Linked DNA regions of Homo sapiens: all the other regions are linked to region 3. The links are contacts of gene promoters, found by promoter capture Hi-C in blood cells and fetal thymus (Javierre and others, 2016). All regions are on one chromosome and are shown on one strand. Each heading gives the region's core, a stretch centred on a gene start or on the middle of the fragment in contact. The rest is flanking DNA. Distances are from core to core; before and after follow the strand shown. Region 1 holds the start of MAP3K3 (mitogen-activated protein kinase kinase kinase 3). Region 2 overlaps TANC2 (tetratricopeptide repeat, ankyrin repeat and coiled-coil containing 2). Region 3 holds the start of MRC2 (mannose receptor C-type 2). Region 4 overlaps TANC2 (tetratricopeptide repeat, ankyrin repeat and coiled-coil containing 2).

What was found. The method cuts DNA at HindIII sites, captures the fragments that hold promoters and counts their contacts. A CHiCAGO score of 5 or more calls a contact.
Region 1: the fragment with the promoter of MAP3K3 here is called in contact with the fragment with the promoter of MRC2 in region 3 in 1 of 17 cell types (fetal thymus); the score reaches 6.3 in fetal thymus.
Region 2: a fragment that was not itself captured here is called in contact with the fragment with the promoter of MRC2 in region 3 in 3 of 17 cell types (neutrophils, M1 macrophages and total CD8 T cells); the score reaches 6.5 in neutrophils.
Region 4: a fragment that was not itself captured here is called in contact with the fragment with the promoter of MRC2 in region 3 in 2 of 17 cell types (M0 macrophages and megakaryocytes); the score reaches 7.2 in M0 macrophages.

What each region holds. Positions count from the first base shown.
Region 1 is chr17:63,621,063-63,624,263 of GRCh38, forward strand. It overlaps MAP3K3 (mitogen-activated protein kinase kinase kinase 3), which reads left to right and starts at 1,355. Exons shown (of 16, transcript NM_002401.5): 1 at 1,355-1,701. The coding sequence starts at 1,698. RefSeq lists silencers at 596-665, 1,276-1,665, 1,756-1,815, 2,056-2,105. The HindIII fragment of the contact is 2,948 bases long and covers 1-2,532 here.
Region 2 is chr17:63,380,084-63,382,934 of GRCh38, forward strand. The region is part of intron 15 of TANC2 (tetratricopeptide repeat, ankyrin repeat and coiled-coil containing 2); the gene reads left to right. LOC105371856 (a long non-coding RNA gene) reads right to left here. Exons shown (of 4, transcript NR_188626.1): 4 at 1,148-1,412. Among named protein-coding and RNA genes, the nearest start is that of CYB561, 65 kb to the right of the region's middle. RefSeq lists an enhancer at 1,125-1,419 and a silencer at 1,125-1,419. The HindIII fragment of the contact is 621 bases long and covers 1,098-1,718 here.
Region 3 is chr17:62,626,184-62,629,338 of GRCh38, forward strand. It overlaps MRC2 (mannose receptor C-type 2), which reads left to right and starts at 1,487. Exons shown (of 30, transcript NM_006039.5): 1 at 1,487-1,737. The coding sequence starts at 1,620. It overlaps LOC107985020 (a long non-coding RNA gene), which reads right to left and starts at 1,867. Exons shown (of 2, transcript XR_001752961.3): 1 at 1,662-1,867; 2 at 254-826. RefSeq lists an enhancer at 1-213 and silencers at 1,407-1,846, 2,047-2,116. The HindIII fragment of the contact is 5,047 bases long and covers 1-3,155 here.
Region 4 is chr17:63,416,886-63,419,760 of GRCh38, forward strand. It overlaps TANC2 (tetratricopeptide repeat, ankyrin repeat and coiled-coil containing 2), which reads left to right. Exons shown (of 28, transcript NM_001394998.1): 27 at 1,422-1,522. Among named protein-coding and RNA genes, the nearest start is that of CYB561, 28 kb to the right of the region's middle. The HindIII fragment of the contact is 164 bases long and covers 1,484-1,647 here.

The sequences.
Region 1 (3,201 bases), core at 105-2,604, 990 kb after region 3:
GATTTGACACTCAAGGCAAAGCCACCACTAAATGTTCTTAGTGGACAGTGGACAATGACATCTGAGGAAGATTATTCTGGAGCCTGACATATTACACTGGAACAGAGGCCGGAGAAAGGAGCCCACATTAATTGTGGTGGACTTGGAATCTGAAGATCTGAGTGTATAAAATGTTGAACAATGAAAAGGTTGGGGAAATTAATTATGGTGCCTTTAATTTTGAAACATCATGCAATCAGTACAATTGTTTTGGAAGGATATTTGGTGGCACGGGAAAACAGAATAAAATGTAAGCATACTACAAAACAATACAAAGCCATTTTTGTCAAACGCCTATCTAGGTAGGAAATAGATTATCTCTGGGGTGGGATCTTTTCTTTTTCATAGTTTTCTGCATTTTTCAATTTTCCTACAAAAAGCTCGTGTTGCTTTTATAAGAAAAAAGTTATTTTCTGAAAGAACCTCTGGCGGAACTCAGATTTCCAGGGACCCACATGCCAGCACTATCCCAGCCTCGGGTGTCTGAGGTACCTAGACCAGAGGGTGTGGCCCTGGAGGTGTGAGACAGGGAAAGCTGGGCTGGGCCGGCCGCCCCTGCCCGGGGCAAGAGCAGCGTCGGGACCGGAGGACCAGTCGGGGGATGGGGCCGCAGAGGTGGCCGCGCGCCGGGAAGTGCTCAGGCCAGACCCTCCCCACTCGTTACACGCCCTGTGCTGGGCACGGGGAGGAGCAGGACGCCACCCTCTGGAACCACCCAGATCGCTGGGGCCTCCGAGAACCCGGAGGGCGGAAGGCCTGAGGGCCCCCTGCAGCCGCCTACTCCTCACCCCAGCCCTAAAGTAGCCGGCGGGGAACTGCGCCAGCCCGCGCGCCCGCCGAGCCTTCGGTGACTGACGGGAGGTGGGAATGTGGGCGGAGCCTCACGCCGGAGCTGTGATTGGAACAACCAACACCTCCCAATCTCTCCCAAGAGAGGGAGACAGCACCAGAGAGGGATGCGCAGAGGCGGGGGCTTAGAGGCCTCTACGTGATTGGCTAACAGCGCAGGGAGCCGGGCGCTGTCCCGATGATTGGCAGGCGCTAGACAGCCCTCGGAAACCGCCTTGGCTTCGCCCATTGGCATCCTGTGAGAGTAGGCGGGATTGGTTCATCGTGTGGTGCTGATGATTAGCTGGCCGCTGAGAGTTAGGGTGTTGGGAGAGAGTTGGAGGGGGACGGCGGGGGCTGCCGACTTCCTTCTTGTTATTGGCTGGTGAGGTGGGTGGGGGTGGTGCGACGGCCCAGCGGCTGCCTGGGATTGGTGGGGGCCGGCGTGAGTGACAGACAGGGGGGCGAGCTGCGCGACCAGCGGTTTGTTTTTCGGAGCGTTCCTGAGGTGGAGAACGGTGGCCGGACGGAGAGACTGCGGGTCTGAGGGACTGGCGGGCGGGCGGGCCGAGCGGCGCCGCCGAGGCCGGGCTGGGCCGAGCCCAGGAGCGCCCGGGATGTAGCGGGCCACCCTGCCGATGCCACAGCGCCCGGCCGCGGGCGGAGCCGGAGCCGGAGCCTGGGGAGGCGGCGGGGGCCCAGAGCGCAGCCCGCGCCCCCCGCGCGGAGCCAGGCCCGCTGCCGTCCCCGCCGCCCGGGCCCCCGGCATGCAGCCCCGGCTGCGGAGGTGACACTCACGGACCTTAGCCACCGCCGCCGCCATCGCCACCATGGGTAAGTGTCGCCACCGCCCCGGCCTGTGCCCGCGCTGCTTCGCGACGCCCCGCCCCAGGCTGAGGGAGGAGGACCCTGGGCCACCGCCTGACAGGCATGGACAGCCCGCCCGGCCCGGGGCTGCGGACCGCCGGCCGGCCGGCCGCCCGCCCCGCTCGCGCGCCGCGGCCCGGGCGGGGGTTCTGGCTCCGCGGGGCGGCCCGGCCGGCAGAGCCCGCTCGGCAGCCCTCCTTCTGGGCGGCGCGGCGGGCGCATCCCGGGGAAGCGGCGGCGGGACCGAGGGCCCGTGCTCCGCGGGGCAGCCTGGTCCGAACGAGCCGGACCGCGAGCCCGAGGGCGGGGGAGCAAGAGCGCAGTGTGGGGCCCGGGCTGGAGGCTGCCGCAGGCCCAGCTGCTGTTGTGTCTTTTCCTTGATTTGCTTTTTTTTCCTGCCTGTGTCATTTCCTTCCCTTTGCTCACACAGGCCGGCCTGTGAGAGTTCCCGGGGCTTGCTCTCCAGCCCTGTGCGCGCCCCAGCGCAGGGGGGAGGGCGTGCGGGGCTCGGCTAGGAGGCGATTAAACTGGAGCTGTGATCAAGCGCGCGGTTGACAAATGCGTGCTGCACGCAGATTGCTGGGGGTCAGGAGTTGGTCGGATGCTGCCAGTTAGAATTCACATCCTACTTTTTGAAAAATCCCGTTGCAGGGGTTTAATCCATTATTTTTTTCTTGCGGTATCCCTGAAATTATGTAACTTTTGAAAGAAACATTTGCTACACAAAAGAATTTCTCTGAAATCACTTCCTTTTTGTCAGTATTTACAATTTCTACTGTGAAGATGTAATCTAAGGAAAGCTTTTAATGTCTTCCGCACGTAGCATTTGAGTTGAATTATATTCCATATCCTTTTTGGTAGTTTAGCAAATGACTACTGGACTAGACTAAGAAATAACATTTTAAACGTTCTTTACTTCTCCTGCCCAGACAGGTGTTGTGATACTGTTGTCACAAGTTTTGCAAAATATTTGGTATTGCCCTAAATAATAATAAAAGGGTAAACTTCAGTGAGAGGATCGTTTGCAAAACGTTCCGTTGCTTCTGTGAAGTGCCCCATGTGAAGAGGGAGCCTTAATGTTTGCCTTGCCCTATAGCAAGGTCAAGTCCTTTTTGTAGGAGGTTAACTGTACGCTATGTCAAATTCGCCAGATATTGTTTTGTGACCCATCTCTACACCCTGGCTTTGAATGAATTGCCTTGTTCTAGTTCATGCTGTCCCTCATACAGTATGAGAAGGGTTTGTTCATTTGCTGGGCTTACTGTTTCCTTCTCATGCTTTCCTTCAGAAGTGCGTGCTCTTCTGAGGGAAGGTCTGCTGTGAGAGTGGACATAAAAGGAACCCAGTAAGGCCTGGTATTTAAATATATAATTGAAGAAATGTTTATTGAATTTTTTTATAGATGAGACACAGAATTCTTGTCTACCCCAGGATTCAAACATTTATCTTGTATTATAGATTTTGAAT
Region 2 (2,851 bases), core at 158-2,657, 750 kb after region 3:
GTGTGCTCCATACATGACCTATCATCTCCTGAGGACAGTCATATTGTAGCAATTAGTTGCAGGTTTTCATGATGTCTAAAAAATCACTGAGGGCAATTACTCTTTCCATTTTTTAAAATTGTTTTAGTGACAATAATAACATTCCTGGTGCTATGACTTTCAAACCAACACTAACCTTCCTTGGAGCTACTTCCCCCAAATCTCTCTTCAAATTATATCCCAGTTTTTCTCCCATTAGTTTGAAAACCTTTAAGAACTCTATAACATCAGCTTCTCTCTCAGCCTTCAGAAGGCTGAAATGGAGGACCAAAAAGAGGACACATAATTTGTTTGTGCATGTATGCATTCATTTGTTTATTCATCACTTACTGAGGCATTAAACTGGGTACTAGAGATACAAAAACAAAAAAGATACAATCCCTAATCTTAAGGAATTTGTAGTTCAGATAACAGTTTTGGGTTAACCCACAAAAGTGGAGAAGGAAGTTACTGTGCTAATTTTTCTGTCCCACAGTCTGAGAGTTCCAATCCCTACAGCCTTTTCAGAATTCTTTTCCTGCCTCAGGATGGAGAATATGGGTATCTTAAACAGTTCTCTGGGTCAGGCTTCCCCCACAGGATATTGTTAAAAAATGAAACCATTGTCTTCAGAGAGAAAGATGGCATTAAGGATAACTTCAAGAGCCTAGCAAATTCTTCCCAATATATAAGCACAGAGCCAGAGCAGCCTGGTCATCAGATGGACAGAAGTGAAACCCACAGTGACAAATCTTGTATTTGAATCTTACTTGTCTTGTCTAACAAATCACTGTACCAAAAATGACCTTACTTAGTAGGAGCAGAGTGGAGCTAAAATAACTGGCAAGGTATGGCATTCCAGTTTCAAGCAGACTAAAAAGTAGCTAATAATTCCATAAACTCTAAGAGCATTGTCCTGCTGTTAGATAGTAACTGAAAGACAGTAACTTAAGCATTAACCTTTTAGCATCACTATCTGCCTAGAATCAGATGCAAAAATGAAGCTAATCCCTGCCTTTGCTGCCCCATAAAATAAATACCACATTCACAGAGAAGTAGCATGAAGCTTCATTTGACCAAGCTTCATTTGACGAAGTATTTTATCCCATACATGGAAACGTACATTTAAACATGCCCTCCTGTCATTAGCACAGTTTTATCTTATACTGATGCAGACAGCATGGTTGCCTGAGATAAGACTGGCTCCATGTGTGATTCAAGCCATAAATACTCTAGTGTACAGCATATGGTGGTGACGTGACTGCAAGCTGAAGAATGAAGACTTGGACTATGGTTTTCCTGGTGCTGCAGTTTACAGGATCCTTTAAATGCAGTGTTCCCTGTTGAGAGGCTTTAACTTCTCCCAAACTGCTAGAATTCTCAATCTGCACCAGCTGTGGGTCAAAGACAAATATAGACTTTATGGTTAGAAATAGTTCCACTTGAAACTTCTATTCAGCAGTGACACACAATCCAATGGGTACTTTTTTCCAATTAATTTTACATTTCTCTGGTTTTATATTCATAAAGGTGATGTTTGTAAATAACCCGCTTTAAAGAAGCTCATTGGATAAGCCCCCAAGGTTAGTTTTTGCCATGATCTTCAGATACCTGAGCCACAGCTAAAGATCCCTAAGATGAGATTGCTCTTGTTTCTTCATGCTTTCCCTGTTTTCTTAAGTATTCAAAAATCTTGAGCAAGCTTATCACTGGCTGCTAAACAGTTTTGTAAATTTAGATTCTAAGGAAGGGACTCCATTACCATTTATTGCCGACAAAAAGATCCCTTACCTGAGCAATAGTTACAGATACTGAAGAGGCACTTTTTCAAGCTATTCGAACATAAAATTCTCTTTAAGAAACCATGAGCTTAGAATTTAATTATGCATTATTTTTGGCTACATCCTGGCTGGTAATGGGATCACACTTCTCTGCCTGTCATCTTTGTTGAATTGAACCAAACTGACGCTCTTTTCTCCCGTACTTCACAGGAACAAAGGGTCAACTCCACTAACCAGAAGAAATCAAAAGTCCATAGTACAAGTAAAGCTAGTATTCCAAATCCAAAGCTATGTATTTCAGGCGTATTTCTTATGTATCTAGTCCAGCCTCAGTGCGGTTCTCAGTGCTGCTTTGTGGTCCATTTACTGGACCATTTAGTTGACATTCATTTACCAAGGTCCATTCTTACTCAGCTCCTTTTCCCATTTCTTTTTCCTCTAGCTCTTAATAAAGCCAACTAATGAAACAAACAGCCTAACTTGTGAGTCACTGAAAAAGATCAAAGCTACCAAGTGTGACTTCCTTTAACTATTTTCCTCCCCTCACCAGCAAATCAATCTATATCATTATCAATTCTTACCTCTTTTTTTCTTGTTTTAGAAGAAAAGATGTTCCTATTCCTCTTTAATTGCATTATGAAATATAGAAAAGTACAGATAATTGCATGTAATCAAATATTATCTACCAGATTTAACAAATGTTAACATTTTTCCATGTTTGCTTCAAATATTTTTCTTTATTTTTAAGAAATGAATGTAACAAATATAATAGATAACGCTTTTGTATTTCTCTTTTACCCCATTTCTCTGTCTCCCTTAGAGATAACTCCTATTCTAAATGTGTTGGGATTTAGCACATGCTAACACCCCTAACATGTTCTTCTCATCTATATTTTACACTTTTCCAATGTAGGTTCCTGTTCATAAACAATATATACAACTATTTTGGGTTTTTTAATGCTATAAGATTCTATAACTTTTTTCTCTTTTTCACTCAGCATTCTGTCTTTGAGATTTCTCTATAGATGTAGGTCAGTGATTTTCAACTCTGG
Region 3 (3,155 bases), core at 237-2,736:
GCTAATGGGACCCTTTCCAGGGGCCTCTAGGGGATTTCAGTGGGGGCTTGCTTCGAGGCTCTATTACCACTGGACTGTTTACCAAGAGCCTCAGCCTGACAGAGATGGGAAGAGACGAGTGAGCATTTCTGACCCAACACCCCCACTGCAGAGTTGGGGAAACATTTACCCAAGATAGGAGGAATAAAAAGGAAAAAAATTGAATTTATTTCCAAAAAACATACCAAGGTGGACAAGATAGGAAACAATACAATTTATATTACAGTTTTATTATTATTTAAAAATTTTATATTAACAAAATGAGATGGGATCTGCCTATGTTGCCCAGGCTGGTCTTCAACTCCTGGGCTCAATCTCCTCGGCCTCCGAAAGTGTGATTACAGGCGTGAGCCACCGCACCCGGCCCATATTACAGTTTCATAGTGTTTTTGATTACTCGTGGTAGGAGAAATGTGTCTTCTTTGCACTTGGGGTCTCAACGTCTCAGTCCTGCCCTATGCCCCGAGACCCCAAGAGGCTTTCCCAAGGTCAGGCAGGGAATCCGCAGAGAGGCAGGGCTGGACTCCAGCATCCTGACTCCCCAGTTCGTGCTCTGTGCTGCAGAGACCTGTTGCGTAACACTGAGTAACTGTGGATTGTCTAACCTTTTATGAAATTTCCAGCTGGTCTTTTGCTACCGGCCAGCAGTCCAGTTGGTGGGAGTGATGATGCCGGTCTTCTGAGACGTCCAGTGGACAGATTTTCCCCAGGTTTCTGGATGCAGCCCCAACAAGCAAAAGTGCTACACTCCTGCACCGGGAACACTGACACAGGGGTCACGAAAATGCTAAAACAAGACGTGCAAGAATTGTTGCGCTCCGCACACGTAACAAGGGCTCTGCCTCCCCCTCCCCCAATCTTCGCCCTGGTGGCCAGGCCCTGGGCTCCGCCCCTTCCCCACCAGACCGGGGGAGGGGTCCTCCTCGGCATGGAGGTAGGGGATGCTAGGCTGCTGGAGACGCCCGCAGAAAGAGGCGGGATGGCGGGGCGGATGCTGGCGGCCCGGGTCTGGCCACCTGGGTCAGCTGCACGCCCCCGCCCCGGGCTGGCCGGACCTCGTAGCCCAGGTCCCACCACGCCGTGAAGTTTGCGGAAAGTTTTGCAGTTGCTTCCCCGCCCGCGCCAGCGGGGGAGTTGTGACGCAGCGTCTGGGGATCCTGGCCGGGACAGAAGAGAGGGAAGGCGAGGCGGGGAGAGACTGGGAAACAGAGCAGCAAGAGAAAGGGCGCACGCTGGGGTCCTCCTGGACCCGGCGTGTCCTCCTCTCCGCCACCCCTTTCTCTCCCTCCCGACGCTCTAGCCCCAGACCCGCGCCTCCTCCCCTTCCCCTCCCACGCTGCCCACTTCCCTTCCCCTCTACCCCTCGAACCCTCCTCCCCGGTTCTGCGCTCCTCCCTCCGCCCTCCCTCCGCCCGGGCTGCCTCCTCCCTCCTCCTCCCCGGGAGGCATCACTTCGTCCCGACCCGGAGGAGGACGCGAGCCCCTTGCGGGCGGTCATCACAGCCCAGCCTCGGGGCTGCCACAGCGCGTTGCGCCTGTGCGCCCTCGGTCCCCGCGTCCACTGAGCGCCGCGCTCGGGGATGGGGCCCGGCCGGCCGGCCCCCGCGCCCTGGCCTCGTCACCTGCTGCGCTGCGTCCTGCTCCTCGGGTGCCTGCACCTCGGCCGTCCCGGCGCCCCTGGGGACGCCGCCCTCCCGGGTAAGGCGCTGCCAACTTGGCCAACTTCAGGGCCCGGGCGGGGGGAGCGCCGAGGCGCGGGCCGCTCTCGACTTTTCCCTCCTTTTCCCCCCTCTTTTCTCCAGAAGCGTGTGTGCGTGTGTGTGTGACTGGGTTTTTAAAACTCGTCTCCGCTTTTCTGAAAGCGGGGGAGGAGAGGGGAGGAGGAGCGCGCCTAGAGGTGGGGGAGGACCTGAGTGGAACCAGATGTGGCGGGCGGCGGGGGAGGGGAGCCCGGGGGACTCCAGCAGCCTAGGAGGAAGCGGGTGGGCTCTTGAGGACCCCCGCGCACCGCGCTCCCGGACCACCCGGCGCCGGCCCGTCCTCGGCAGGGGACCTGCAGGGCGCGCCCGGGGAGCCAGGGCTCTCTGTCCGGGAGTTCCCGGGCCCAGTCTCCTCGCTCTGCCCCAGGACTGATGCGTTAGGACGGCTTTCCAACTATCCGCGAGGGTTCGTTTCCCCCACCTTCCCCCCGCCCCCTGCATCTCGTGGGCGTTGATATTTTCTTTTCCACACTTAGTCTTCAAGGAGGCTTGTGGCGCGCGGCATCCGCCCCGCGTGAGCTCGGCAGCCCTGTGAGGAGGCTCCTGCCACTGGGACGCAGCAACAGGCTGGGCGCCGCCGTGCTGTGATGTTGCGTAGCGTGGGCAGCTCTGGGCACACTAGTGGCCCTCCAGAGGGGACAGACCTTGAGCGGCAAAAGAGCTGCTAAAGATTTTAAAACCCAACGAACAGGAAACAAAACAAAAATCAGAAAACCCCAAAACTGTGCCATTCTCTTCCTGCTCCTTATTCAGGGGTAACAGTGAAGTGTGGGGACAGACAGATCCCTCGCCAAGAATCTAAGAGTTGAAAGGAAAGATCCACTTCCTGGGGGAGTGGGGGTGGGGGTGTCTGGAGTGACCGGGGGAATCGCCCGGCCCAGCTTGGTCCTGCTGGCTGTTTAATTGGGGGATGGGGACAGTCCGTGCAGTGTCTGCAGTTTTGTGCAAGGACCAGACAGCCCCCTGGAGAGTCTGGGGCCTCCAGCCTGGCCCGTGCTTGCTGGGTTGGCCTGGCGTGACGTAGGCACAAGACACATATCTGCCAGATGGGAAAGGTGGGGGCCACGGTGACCCACATTCACACCAACCGGAGACCCCCGGGGCAATTCTGGGCCCACCTGGCATTGAATGTGGGACAGACACAAACCAGGCCGGGTAACCCCCTAACCCACTGCAGGGCGGCCTCACAGGCAGTTCCCCTACCTCCTCGCACTCCTGCCTTCCTCTGCTCCTCTGCGCAGGGCCTCAGGAGGCAGGCGGTGGGAAGGGGTGGGGAGGATGGCCATTCCCAGAGCTCCAGAGCACACTTTAAAGCCAGGCCCTGGGAGAGAGTTGTGGCCAGAGTGCTGACTCGGC
Region 4 (2,875 bases), core at 316-2,815, 790 kb after region 3:
TCCTGTGAAATGAAAGGAACAGCACCAAGGCCTCCCCTGCACCAGCCGATGAGGATGAGGCAAAGCTCAGAAGTTGCTGCCAACCCACTGATCTCTTTTCCCTACCAAATAATAGACTTTTTAAAAATGCCCTCATATTTTTAGGAATAATGATGGTCCCAAAAGAACAAATAAAAGGGTAAGGCTGGAAGCAGAGCAGGGAGAGGGTGACCCATAAAAGCTGAAATTCTTTCTAGCTCCACATTTGTTCAGAAGCGGTTGTTAATCACCTCCTGGGCCAATACTGTGCCAAACACCAGACGTCTGTCTTCTTAGGTAGAGGATTTCCCATCAACTTTTAAAAAATTTTTTTACCTATGCCCCAGGGCCTTTGTTCTGCCCAAGGCCTTGTTTTCTGCCTTAGGACTCATGACCATAACCAGAGGCTACCATGCTATACTGTGGCTTTGACACTAAAAGAAGGGGAAAGCCTTCTCTTTTAGCTTAGTATTTAAGGGAATACTGAAAACCATAGGCTGCCTAGTCGGCGTTGTTCCCCACCCCACCCCCCAGTCTCTGTTTCCAGGGGTTCTCAGGAATGACATGCCTGTGAGCGTGTTCCTCTAGGGAGAGCACAGACCTCAGTCACAGCTGGGGTCTTCTCTTGTTTTGTTTTATTTTTAATTTTAAGTGTTTCCTAAGTAAGGAACCAGTTAAAAAAAGGAACAGATCAGAGAAGCCTCTGTGAAATAGAAAGAAAACGATAATTAATGAGCACCTACTATGTGCCGGGAACTGTGCAGGGCTTTTAAATACTGTATCACACTTGATCCTACCCCCGGGGTAGGTATGGATGAGAAAATACACTATACACTTGGGGGTTATGAAGCTGGTCAGAGAATTGAACCCAGGTCTGTCTGACACCCCCTCTCCCTCTAGTCTCTGTAGTCAGTGCAGTTTCCTTTACAGACGTCATCCTCCCGGACTTTACAGGACACCTTCTCACCTGTCCCTTAGAAAGCCACAGTGTAGTGCATGTAGCAGGAAGGTGTGGGGCTCAGACCAGGGTCCACGTGAAATGTGGACATGTGTGCGTTTGCCTCCTACATGCATGGATAACTTCAGGAGCTTCACTGGAAAGGGTTGGTGTTTGGCTTCCGGGCTGAGAACTTTATTAGAAAGGCAAAAAGAGGGAAAATTAAAACTATTTTAATATTCTGGGCAGATAAAGTCCAGTGAGCAGTCGCAGCGCTACACAGGACAAAGGCAGAAGGAACTTTCAGTCCACAGGCCACGCGGCTTGAGCCATGTCAGGCACGTCTAGCGTCCCAGGCGTTCCATCCATGAATGTCAAAAAATGTACAAATAATTTGTTTTATTCCCAAGTTGTCTATTTTTTATATCTCATCAATGACTCATTTGCACACCTATTGTAATGACAGGATTTTGGAATGGCGGAGGAATTTGCTACTAAGGCCCTGGAGCTGAAACCGAAATCTTATGAAGCTTACTATGCGAGAGCAAGGGCAAAACGCAGCAGCAGGTGAGGAGAGAGAGAGAGGGTGAAAGCAAGAGGTCTCTTTTCTGAAAATTTGGCCAAGGCAGCGTCGGCCACCCTGGGGCATATGTACCCAAATACATCTCTGTCCTTGAGAACTGTCAGGGCCAAGCTTTGGGGATGGCTCCCATAGCACAGCCCTCAGCTCAAGATCAGCAAATCTGCTGGGCTGTGGAGGCCACGAATGTTTCACTTCGGGAGAAAAACACTTTTTCACTGGAGAATGGCAGCTTCTTCCAAGAAGCCTCTGCCGTATCTCAGGCATTTTTCAACCCCCAGAGCAGCTAGCACAAAGAGACAACGGCGACTTAAAGAAATCACTTAAGCAGAGCACCCCACCCCCGCTTTAGAGGGAAAGTAGGATGGTTCACTTAACATCACAGGTTCCTCTTCCTTCTCCCATAGGCGTTTGAGGAATCCCGGATTAGTTAGTCTTCCCTCTGGGGCTCTCCTCAAGTCTGGTGGCATCAGACCCCCTTCCACCTAAACCATCACCCACCACACACACACAGAGTCAAGAGGTCCTTGCTGCCAGGATGGAGAGGACCCTCTAAGAGAACACCATTCCACATTCCTTGTGCCCATCTGCTTTAGTTTGGCCACTGGGCAGAAAAGCTCCCAGAATAACCTAGAACCTGCCATCAGTGATCTTTGTGTAACTTGTCACTGTCTCTTATGCCTCCTGCCCTCCTCCTCCCCAGCTGCATGGGAAAGAACTGCTTCAGGTTCACTGCTATGGCCAGGGGCACATGGTCCCGAAAATCACACCCAGCTTGAGGCTAGTGATGGTGGTGGCAGTGATCGCACTCTTACCTAGCTGGGGCAACGAAGTCCTCACAGAAATCTGACTGAAATTCTCCTTCCCTCTGGGTAGTTCCTTTTTCACAAGGTCAGTTGCCCCTGTCAGGTGATATTAGTAGAGAAGATGGGAATGTCTCTGACAGTTCATTTCTTCATTTGTAAATTAGAGTCTCCTTGGAGTCAGCTCAGCTCCAGCCCCGAGTGACCTAGTCAGCAAGCCTAATGCCTGCCCCACTTTGATAGAGCAAATGGAGACACAGCAATTCTGAGAGATGAGGGTTAGAAAGGGCAGAGGACAGGGTTCTTGCCTAGAGTAGAACAGGCCTGAAATTTGGAGCTAAAATATTGAGAATATAAAGAAAAATTTCTGCTGGATCAGCAAGATTTTTAAATATGTAGTTTTTTTTGTTCCTAAGCTACTTGACAGTGACCCTGTAAATGACAACCCCACCCAACTCTCATACTGCCTGGTGTGTGTTTGGGCACCAAAACAACTTCCCGAAGGGCCTGGCTGGACTGACAAAATGGGGCATTTCT